Regions from separate parts of the Homo sapiens genome. Here all the other regions are linked to region 1. The links are contacts of gene promoters, found by promoter capture Hi-C in human tissues and cell types (Jung and others, 2019). All regions are on one chromosome and are shown on one strand. Each heading gives the region's core, a stretch centred on a gene start or on the middle of the fragment in contact. The rest is flanking DNA. Distances are from core to core; before and after follow the strand shown.

Region 1 (2,700 bases), core at 1-2,500:
AGGCAGGCGCCCTCTGGAAAACACACTTCTTTTATTGACTGGTTTTGGGGGGTCGTTCTTCTACTCGCCTTCTGGATGGGAGGGCAGTCAGGAGCCAGCAAGAGCCCAGAGGCTGAGAGGAGGAGCAAAGGCGTGGGGAGCAGCCTTTGGGAAGGGTTCCGAGAAAGGGGTCTCTGGGGACCTCCTAAGTCCGGGGCGCTCGCAGGACACTAACTCTCCGGCACTGCCACCCTTACCCCTGGCCGAGGCGCAGCTCACCTGGACGCAGGGACCCCCAGCGCCCCCAGGCCAGGTGTGGCCACCTCCGACGCCACCCGCAGTCCTCGGAGGCGCAAGGGGGCAGCGGCGCCGGCCCTGCTGGGGGCGACCTGGCCTCCCCCGGGTGCAGAGGCACGTTTGCAGAACACTCGTGTGCGTGTGCGCCTCCTCGTCCTCGCCCTGCTGTTCTCCCCACGGACGGCAGGGCGAACGCACAAAAAGAAAGTTGTCGGCGGGCTCCCGCCCCCTCGGGCTCGCCGGGGACCCGGGGCTCCCGCTCATCCCCGCCGCCGGCCGGCCGGGGCCGCTACTCACCGGGGTCGAAGTCGGGCACCACCGCCTGGTACTGGGGTCCGACCCTCATGCCACCGCCACCTGCGGGGGAAGCAGAATACGGCGGTCAGCGCGGCGCGGGGCGCGGGGCCCGGGGCCGCGGGGGCGGCTGCCACCTACCGTGCTCCTCGTCGCTGGACGAGCCCGAGCTGCCTTCCTCCCAGGAGTTGCTGCTGCTGTTGCCATTGGGCGCCGCCGCCGCCAAACTTTTATTCTGGCCATTATTGGGGGCGGCGGCGGCTGAGGCGGCGGCGGCCGAGGCTGAGGAGGCGGCGGCGCCCGAGGCGGCAGTGGCGGCTGGCGAGGCGCAGGCGGCCGAGGCGGCGGCGGAGGCGGCGGCGGCGGAGGCGGAGGCGGCCGCGTTGTTCCTCCCTCTCCGCTTCCCTGAGACCTCGGGGCCCTTCTCCACCATGGCCGGCATCGGCGGGGGCCGGGGCCGTGCGAAAGTGGCGGGGACCCGCGGCTCCTGAGGAGGGGGCGCCGAGACGGGGGAGGGGGCGCGGGGCCGGCGCGGGGCCGGGCGGGCGCGGCGGGAGCCCACGGGCGCGAGTCCGAGTCGGGGGAGGCCCAAACGGGCAGAGCGCGGAGCCGCTTCAAGCCCCCAGCGACGAGCCGAGCGCAACTTTCGCTCTCATCGCCGCCCTCACTTCACTGGCACCAACTACTCCGGGAGCAGCGAGCGGAGAGGGGAGGAGGCAGGGGCGGGGCCTGCAGGGGCGCCGGGGGAGGGGGGCGCGCAGCCCAACTGACGCGAGATGGCTCCGCCCCCCCTCGCGCTCCCATTGGCTCTGGTGGGATTTGGACAGCCAGCGGCAGCGGGGTTGGCTCCGCGCGCCCGTCCGTCCGGGGCGGCGGGGCGGGGGAGCGGGGAGGGGCGGCTCCGGGCTTCCGTTGGCGAGGTTCGGTTGACGCGTATCGCCCGCCGTACGTGGTTTGAGGTTTGCCATCTCCCTACGCCCCATGATCCATCTCTCCAGGCAGCGGCGAGGAGTTCGCGGCCCTCCCCGCCCCCTACCCTTGGCCGCGGCCCCTGCCCTTGCTGCCCGCGCACGCCTCCCGCAGCCTCTGGCCCCCCATCTGAAGGACCCCGCTGAGAGTCCCGTCGACTTCTCAAAGTAAAATGTGTCTGGCGCTGGGAAGCCGCGGAGCGCCCGGCCGGGACTACTTTCCGCTGCGCGGAGGAGTACGGGCGCGCTAAGACTCCATACAAAGAGGAAACTAATTGGGGGAAACTCGCTGCGCCCCCGCCTTTCCCAGGGGACGCGGGGCTGGCGGGGGCGGGGGCCGCGGCGCGGGGGACGGGCTTCCCAGGCGGCCGCCTCCCCTGGCGCGAGCTGCGTGGGGACTCGGGTCTGCGGTGCTGCCCGCTAATTGGGTGGGGGAGGCCGGGGCCCCCGGGGTGGCTTGGGTGCGGGGTGCGCCGCGGCTTCAGAGGCCCAAGGGAGGGTCCCCGTGGGTCCCCGGGGCACAGAGTCCCGGCGTGGGGACGCCCAAGCCGCCTGGGTGGCCGCTGAAAGATGAATGAAGGGGCCCAGTCGTCCTGGGGCGGGGGTCCAGGAAGGGTAAAGAGGAAGAAGCTATTTTCATCCCAAGCTCTCGGCACGGGAGGAGGGTCAACTTCTTTCGGGGCGAGGGCAGCCACTTTTCCGGACCTGCCGCCCGCCCCGCCTCCCTACTCCCCCCGGCACCCCCACGAGGGAGAACACGGGGTGCGGGCGGGTGGGGTAGGCTGAGGCTAGCCTGAGAGCCGCTGCCTTGGAGAGGGACCACCGGGCAGCCGTACAGCTGTTAGGAGGCTGAGGAGTGTAACTGCCTTGGAGGTCCCGGTGCCCTACCCCCAGCCAACCCTGAAACTACGCGCCCTTCGTAATTAGACCAGTGGAGGTCTATACGGAAAATCTTTTTAAAGCAGGGAAGGCTATTTTTCTTTTAAGTTACTTCAAACCTGAGCTTAATTTGGGGACTAGCTCTGGATATAAATAGCTACAGGGAGAATTTGGGAGTTTTATGGTTTTAAAGCCTGAGTAAATAAGCAGGGTTTTGTCTTGAACATTTTCTGCAGCATGAACCATTATTAACTTTATTGAAGAGACCACGTTCACTTCTGCC
Region 2 (2,700 bases), core at 35-2,534, 410 kb after region 1:
CTAGTACAGCCCACACTTGCTTGGCATTCCAAACCCATCCCCTTCACTAAAGACCAACCGTTGGTGCATTGTCTCTAGCGCGCTTCTGATGGGCTCTGACCTGGAATGAGCCCCGGCCAACCACGTTCAAGGGGCTGCGTTTAGCCGCAGCAAGGCTTTGAGAGGCGGCACAGAGAATTAGACAGAGGGGAGGCAGGCAAGACAATAAGTCAAACGTCAGCAAATAGCAAGATGTAAGACGTGTGGAACATCACCTTCATGTCATCCCAAAATGAGAAGAGACACACAGTCACAAAGTGCGTAACATGCGTTAAGTAAAAATTTCACAGTGACAATCTCTGGAATTGCTTGCTGCTCATCAGATGGCTTCTCCCAGGGGCCAGCAAAAGCCCCTCCTTTGGAGCTCTGCATCGGGTGGGGAGAGGGTGGCCACCAGGGGAAAGCAGGAACAAGCAGAGGGCGGACATTCTGTGGCAGCATCTTCCCTGGCCTAGCACCCTCAGTCAAGCATCTGCTGAAATAACAAGCTTCTGTTGTTCTCACATGTCACTTTTTCCTAAGGCAGCCTGTCATTTAGAAACTGCTAGCTATTACAATCTACTTCTCTTCCTTCAGAGTAGCTTCTTAAAGATGAACTTAAAAAACAGCTACACTGCAACATCTTTACCAGCTCTTCATTCTCTGATGCTGTACTCCACGGAAGGTTAGATCTCCTATCGCAAGGCAAGTCACCACAAATGGCTGTTGTGAGGCTTCCTTAGGCTAATGAAATACTGATTTCTTCATTAAAGAAAAGCTATGAATAAACATCAAGATAAATTCAATTTGCACACATACTAACACCAGATCTCATCACATTAAAATGCTGACATATTCAAATGACCTATTTTTATTGAACCCTTCTGTTAAATATGTATAGGAATACGTATTCCCATTCTAAAGGGAATACCAGTATCTCACACTGACGAAAAGGCAAGATGCATTCATTTCTGCAAAAGATGATTTCAAATTCTTAGAAAAAAATGTTTTTTAAAGATAGAATTCTATGCCTTTCTGAAAGTGTTGAGACAACACTGGTAAATTACAGAGCATTGTAGAGCAGAGAGTAATTCCTGTGTGCTGCCTAACTACTACACTGTTGTTGTTCTAACCTTTGGGCCATCCATGGGCTCATTATATTCAGCAGAGCACATAAATGATTTTAAATTTCCAATTCAAGTTGCTGAGTAACATAAGCAACAATCGGTAGAAGAGTTCCCATCCTAAGTGAAAACGGCCCTAAGTCCCCAGTTGTGCAGAGGGCCTACAAACTTCCATTTCCTCATCCTACAGAGAAACTGAGGCCCAGGAAGAGGTGGTGATCTGCCCAAGGTTCATAATGCTTACAACTTCACCTTTAACCATATCTAGCTGTTTCTCCCTTTTCAATCACCCAGCGTCAGCTAGAACAAGCTACTGAATCTGTAATGTCTAAAATTTCAATAAACAACACGTGTAGCAGTAATTGTATATCATATGACAGCATTTTGGACATAGTACACTGCTGTGTTTCAAACAGGAAGCAAAAGAGCTAGAGTGAGAGAACATTAAACATATCTTAAACATTAATGGAGATCAGCTACTAAAACAAGTGGCCAAAATGCTTGACTTGGCTTCTGTAATTCAAATAATCTCTGATCCAACCAGGCGTGAGCTGAAGAATACAGCCTCAAATCAATTTGGGTAACAGAGAGCTGATCTTCCAAATACTAGTGTGAGGAAAAGCTTTGATCTCGCCTTCATCGGAAGTTCAACAGCATTAGTTCATCACTGCAACTACTCACTTGGCACTTGTGCTGTTAGTCATTTGTCATATATGTCGAATATCCTCAAATAACCTAAAAAAAATGTTCATGGCACAACTTTCTTTTTTTTTCTCTCTCTCTGAGACGGAGAGCTCTGTTGCCCAGGCTGGAGTGCAGTAGCGCAATCTCGGCTCCCTGCAACCTCCACCTCCTGGGTTCATGTGATTACCCTGCCTCAGCCTCCCAAGTAGCTGAGATTACAGGTATGTACCACCTGTATATTACAGGTATGCACCACCTGTATATATATGTATTTTATGGAATAAAAAAAGTCTAATTCTGTTTGGGCCATATATTTATTTACATGTACATATTTGCAAAGAAAACAGTTTGAAAAGATATTCACCAAAATATTAAAAGTGTCTACCATTAAAAGAGGGGGTAATATTTAGATAATATTTTTTGCCTTTTTGTCAATAATCATATATTATATATAATTTTTTAATAGAAAAAAATAACCAAAAAAACTACTAAAACTATTTCAAAATTATTCTAGTAGTTTAAAAGCATGTCATTGCTTGGTATTAGGGTCACAGAAAAATCTGTGACTTGATGAACAGTAAAATTCACAATAAAAGGAAGCTTACTGTAACACTGAGCAAATGCATGAATGGGAATGATATATCATCAACAGATGATAATATATTCCAAACAGGCCAAATCATAAAGTTTCACACCAATTAAGACCACAGGAGTCTATTACTCATCTTTCTGTGGCATCAGTGACATCACTCAATGAGAGGAGAGAGGCCAGGAAAATTATTTAAAGAAGCCAACCATTCAGGCAACAGATGAGGAAGCCATGGCTAGTTCTTTTGTTTTACTCTTCAAATGGCATTCAGTGTTAGAACAGTTC
Region 3 (2,700 bases), core at 176-2,675, 380 kb before region 1:
AAAAGGGAATTTCAGAGTCCTTTTCATAAAGTGGGAAAGCAGAAAAAAAGCTTAGGCTTTAGCAAGCTTATTTAGAGTTCTCAAATTTTGGTCAGTTGTTTTTTTTTAGACGGAGTTTCACTTTTGTCACCCAGGCTGGAGTGCAGTGGTGCGATCTCAGCTCACTGAAACCTCCACCTCCTGGGTTCAAGCGATTCTCTTGCCTCAGCCTCCCAAGTAGCTGGGATTACAGGCATGTGCCACCACACCCGGCTAATTTTGTATTTTTAGTAGAGACAGGGTTTCACCATGTTGGCCAGGCTGGTCTCGAACTCCTGACCTCAGGTGATCTGCCTGCCTTGGCTTCCCAAAGTGCTGGAATTACAAGCATGAGCCACTGCGCCCAGCCCCAATTGGCTTAGTTCTAATGATATTATTTTATAGTCACCAGCTAGAATCAGTTCCTGATATTTTATCTGTACGTTCTCTGGCTATTTTCTGCTTCTCTGTTACAGTTTTCCTTTTTGTGGCTTTCAGACAGTTCCTAGAGCTGCTTTCCTCCTAAAGCTTAATCAGTGACTCTGCCTGCTCCTTGGTGTTGTAGGTGCTAGACCTGCTGTCACCACTTTCTTTTGGCGGTTCCTAGGTTATCAAAGTTCCCTAAAAGCTCCAATCAGTTTTTGTTTTTTTGTTTTTTTGTTTTTTGAGACGGAGTCTCACTCTGTCACCCAGGCTGGAGTGCAGTGGCATGATCTCGGCTCACTGCAAGCTCCGCCTCCTGGGTTCACGCCATTCTCCTGTCTCAGCCTCCCAAGTAGCCCCCCACCACGCCTGGCTAATTTTTTGTATTTTTACAAAATAGAGACAGGATTTCACTGTGTTAGCCAGGATGGTCTCGATCTCCTGACCTCGTGATCCGCCTGCCTTGGCCTCCCGAAGTGCTGGGATTACAGGCGTGAGCCGCTGCGCCTGGCCTGGCTCCAATCACTTTTAAGCCTTAACCTCACACAGGTTGGCTCTGCAGTTGACCTTCACCTCCAAAGCACACTTTGAATCTCACCTTCTCTGCATTTCCTATCAGGAACCCCACTGTCCTGATCCAAAAACAGACTTCTTTGATTGAGTCACTTACTAACTAAAACTTTTCTTGCACGCTGAGAAAGGACAAGGGCCAGGCACTGTGCTGGGTGACACAGGTTAGAGGGACTGAGCAGACGAGTGTGTGCGCCACCCAAGGGCTCCCAGTGCTCAGGGGAGATCGCTGTCAGATCAGAGTAAAGTCTAGGGAGCCTGTTCAGCACAGGCATGCAGGTAGCTGTGCCTATGACACTGTGTGTGTGTGTGTGTGTGTGTGTGTGTGTGTGTGTGTAAGTAAAAAAACCTCTGAATGAAAAAGTGTTGTGAATTATTAAATAATTTCCTGTCAGTAAGTCAGCTAACATAAAGTTTACATATAGTCATTGCACATAAAGGAACAGAGTTTATTTCCTCTTTTGTCCAGATTCAAACAGGCTCGAGCGACAGCTTGAGGACACAGTGGCGCTTCGCCAAGAGCGTGAGGACTCCACGCAGCGGCTGCGGGGGCTGGAGAAGCAGCACCGCGTGGTCCGGCAGGAGAAGGAGGAGCTGCACAAGGTAGGTGGCTCAGTTTGGGGTGAGAAAGGCTTACGGGACTTTGCAGAATTCTGTAAGGTCACGTTCATGCCGATGATGGAAGACCTCTTGGGACTCCTGCCCATGGGCTGTCCCTGCTGCATGCAGGACGCCAGGGCCAAGCCTGGCCCCGGGGCCCCTGCCACGCCTGCCTGCTGCACAGCCCCCGCGTCGGCTGGCAGAGCTTGGCTCCCAGTGGCAGGTGCCTTCCACCCCCTTGCCCCCAGCGGTTATCCACCTCGCAATCAGCCTCTCCAGTCTCCACTTCAGACCCACAGAGAAAGCAGCACCCCACTGCATTCTAAAGCGAGGAAAGATGTCGATAGGGCATGGTGGCCGTGCACAGGGCATGGTGGCCGTCCACAGGGCATGGTGGCTGTGCATAGGGCATGGTGGCTGTGGCAACACACGCTGCGTCCCGAGCCAGGCCCTCCCCTTCTCTCCACCAGGCCTCTGCTCTTAGAAGGGGACCCTTAGTAATGACAGGGAACTGCAGCAGAGACCCTGTGTTAAAATCTGGGTGATTTCCCCCCATAATTCGTTTATAAATTTCATTTTTAGTAATATATGGGAAACTTTTATGCTCAGGTGTCAGCATGTTACTAACACAATTATATGCGTGTTTTCTAAAATACATTCATTGATACATGTTATTCTTGAACCTGTAGTTTGTGATCTGTTCTCTAAAATGTGCCAGGTATCAAACCCAGATTGTTTCTTAAGATAATCTGTGGGTCATCCACGTGAGTGATTTGTCTAGAAGTGCAGTGTGGGGCACATGGCATCTCATTGCTTGACAGGGTCATAGTACCTCCCAGCGGGCCCAGAGAGGCCTGGGGAGGCCTCCCCTTCACGTGTGGGAGCTGCCCTGCCAGCTTGCTCAGGGTCTTGTCACTTCCATCTCAGACCAGCAGGTGTGACAGTGACTGAACTGCCAGATAGTTGACCAGATTGGCTGCAGGGAGGTCAGGGTCATCAGCGTGGTGAGTGCAGAGTGACAGCCAGTATCCGCACATCAGTCTGCATTGAAGGGCAGGCTGTCCAGCGATTGTTTTTATACAGTTCTTC
Region 4 (2,700 bases), core at 167-2,666, 400 kb before region 1:
GCACCGTCTCTACCCCACCACACTGGCTGGCCTGAGGGTCAATTGTGACAATTTATGCATGGCAGGTACTGTGTCTGCCATTTATAACTGGTGGCTGTTTTATTTCTGGGTCCCAGCAAAAACATCCTTTAAATCACTGTTATCTGTAGTTGGGATAGGAGGGCTTTTTGTAACTTTAAAGTCCATTTCAGTTGACTTCTTTATGTAAATCTTACTGAGATATGTCACAGGTATTCAGTAAAGCTCCCAAACCGAGGGGTGCAACTCAGTGGATTGTTCAAAACTGCACGCTCACAGCAGCACCCAGATAAGCCCCCTTGGGGCTCCCCCATCACTCCCTCCCCAGGGGTCACCACCCCTCATCCCCCCCACAGTGCTATGCAGAACTTTCCACAGTGACAGAATGTTCTAGATGTGCACTGCTCAATACGGTAGCCCCAGCCACATGTGGCTCATGAGCACTCAAAACGTGGCTGGTGCAACAAAAGAACCAAATTCTTCATTTTATGTAATTTACATTAATTTGAGTTTGAATAGCCCTCTGTGGCTAGGGGCTACCATGTTAGACAGTGAGGCTCTGAAAGCATAAATCAGCTTTGCCTGTTTTAAAATACTATATATATGGAATCATATTACATGTGCATTCTTTTAAAAGTTTTCTTTTTAAATAATGTTTCAAATAATTTCAAACTTAAAAAATTTCAGTCTTATACAAGGGTTGCAAGAACGGTACAAAAAGCACCCATATACTTTTAATCAGATTCACGTATTGTTAATATTTTGGCTCCTATTATATACATCCCCCTCCCTCTCCACATGTGTACACACACGTACAGATTTTTCCTCACCCATCTAAGAATAAGCTGCATGTACCAAGAGCATTTACCCCAAAATTCTTACTTACACTACTCATGCTTAATCATACCCTCTTTACTCAGATTTTAGCAGTTGACCCAGGAGCATCTCTTACAGTATTTTCTTCCCTCCAGTACAGAATCCAGTCCAGGATCACATGTTGCATTTATTGTCATGTCTTCTTTAATCTCTTTTAATCTAGAATAGTTCCTCATCCTTCCTTTGTTGTGACATTGGCATGTTGGAAGAACATTGATGTGTTTGGCGAATACAGTGTCCCTTGCTTTTTCAGTAGAAGACTTCTTTGGTTTGGTCTGATGTTTCCTTCTGATAGATTGAGATGATGTGTTCCTTCCTCTTGGAATGTGTGTGTATAGCTATATTGTGTCCTTCTCAGGGTGTCATTTCCACAGGTGTACAATATCCATCAGCCCCTTGGTGGTGATAAACCCATCACGCAGTTAAGATTTTGTTAGATTTTTCTGCTATATAGTTTTTTCCCTGTGGGGAGATACTTTTAAGACCATGCAAATATCCTCTTCCTCTTTAAAATTTCCTCCAGAGATTTAGTACCCATTAATGAATTTTGCCTAGACCAGTCTTTGCATGGTTGCAGATTGACTCACAAACTCCAGACCCACCATGCTGACCAGTCGTCATCCGGCTTTCTCCTCTAAGGAAGCAACCCCTTTCTCCCTGTGTATTGGTCTGTTTGTGATCAGTGTGGCTACATGGATCCTTCTTTCTCCCAGTGGTTTTTAATTCACTATCTTAGTTATTTTTGTGCTGAAATTGGCCCATATTTGGCATTCTAGCCGACTCCTGTGTTTGCGCTGTGCCTCTTCACTTTTTGAGGATGCCCTTAGTTTCTGGCTCATCCTATACCTTCTCTGTCCCCACTCCGTTGTTTCTCAGAAGAGCTCAAGGCCCTTTAGTGGGGAGCGGCTTTGAAGACCAAGTTCTGGGTGCTGGGCATGCGCATTACTATGGGGTTGCCTGCTTCTAGGCCCCTCAGTGCACAGAGGTAGTAACAGAGGTATAGACACACTCATGGACACACACGTCTACCTGTGCATACTCAGGAATCATGAGTTAACTTCCTGACTTCCTCCCTTTCCAGACTTTTGTCTTCCTCCTACTGAAACTGTGACTCCCAGCACCGTTAGTACGTGCACTCACTCAGTCCTGAGATGTGTCTAAAAAAGCTTTAGAATTGCTCTGCCCAGGACACCACAGAAGCAAACCTGCCCGCAGGCATTCCGGGTTTGTTTGCGGTTCTCCCCCATCTCATTGGGACTGCACCCCTCACCTGCAGTAATTCAAGTTCTGTGTTCATAAGTCACTTGGATTTGTTTTGTTTTGTTTTGTTTTGTTTTAACCCCATCTCCCCCTTCAGTGTTGTTATTTATTTGAAATACAGTTGGATTCATTGGTTTGAATCAGTTTTCCATTTTAGACTTCCCTTCCGCCTTTGTTGATTGAGTTTTATTCTTTGAGTACGTAGGACGTTAGCGTGCTTCCAAAACTGCATGAAGTTGTACTCAGAAGCGTCGCCCCTTCTTTATCCTGCCCACCTCCGCTGGCAACCCAGGATCCGTAGCCAGTCTGCTGTCTTCTGCTATCGTCCATGCAGGCGTTTTCTTGTTTATCCTTTGTTAAGCAAAAGGTGATACCTTTAAAAACTTTAGTGATGTATCCTGTAAATCATTCCATATCAATTCATGGAGCTCTTCATTCTTTTTTTTTTCTTTTTTTTTTTGAAACAGAGTTTCGCTTTTGTTGCCCAGGCTGGCGCGCAGTGGTGCGATCTCGGCTCACTGCAACCTCTGCCTCCTGGGTTCAAGT

The links. Contacts are between HindIII fragments. The study calls those that stand out against the background at their distance.
Region 2: a contact is called between a fragment that was not itself captured here and the fragment with the promoter of RCOR1 in region 1, in 1 of the 25 tissues and cell types used here (dorsolateral prefrontal cortex).
Region 3: a fragment that was not itself captured here is called in contact with the fragment with the promoter of RCOR1 in region 1 in 1 of the 25 tissues and cell types used here (dorsolateral prefrontal cortex).
Region 4: a contact is called between a fragment that was not itself captured here and the fragment with the promoter of RCOR1 in region 1, in 2 of the 25 tissues and cell types used here (lymphoblastoid cells and mesenchymal stem cells).

The regions. Positions count from the first base shown.
Region 1 is chr14:102,591,199-102,593,898 of GRCh38, reverse strand. It overlaps RCOR1 (REST corepressor 1), which reads right to left and starts at 1,250. Exons shown (of 12, transcript NM_015156.4): 1 at 712-1,250; 2 at 574-633. The coding sequence starts at 1,012. RefSeq lists silencers at 274-883, 944-2,253 and an enhancer at 1,832-2,647. The HindIII fragment of the contact is 11,930 bases long and covers 1-2,700 here.
Region 2 is chr14:102,182,286-102,184,985 of GRCh38, reverse strand. The region is part of intron 1 of WDR20 (WD repeat domain 20); the gene reads right to left. Among named protein-coding and RNA genes, the nearest start is that of WDR20, 44 kb to the right of the region's middle. RefSeq lists enhancers at 1-142, 143-644. The HindIII fragment of the contact is 5,381 bases long and covers 1-2,700 here.
Region 3 is chr14:102,972,930-102,975,629 of GRCh38, reverse strand. It overlaps CDC42BPB (CDC42 binding protein kinase beta), which reads left to right. Exons shown (of 37, transcript NM_006035.4): 12 at 1,481-1,614. Among named protein-coding and RNA genes, the nearest start is that of AMN, 52 kb to the right of the region's middle. The HindIII fragment of the contact is 3,116 bases long and covers 1-2,700 here.
Region 4 is chr14:102,989,774-102,992,473 of GRCh38, reverse strand. All of the region lies in intron 5 of CDC42BPB (CDC42 binding protein kinase beta), which reads left to right. Among named protein-coding and RNA genes, the nearest start is that of CDC42BPB, 66 kb to the left of the region's middle. The HindIII fragment of the contact is 4,337 bases long and covers 1-2,700 here.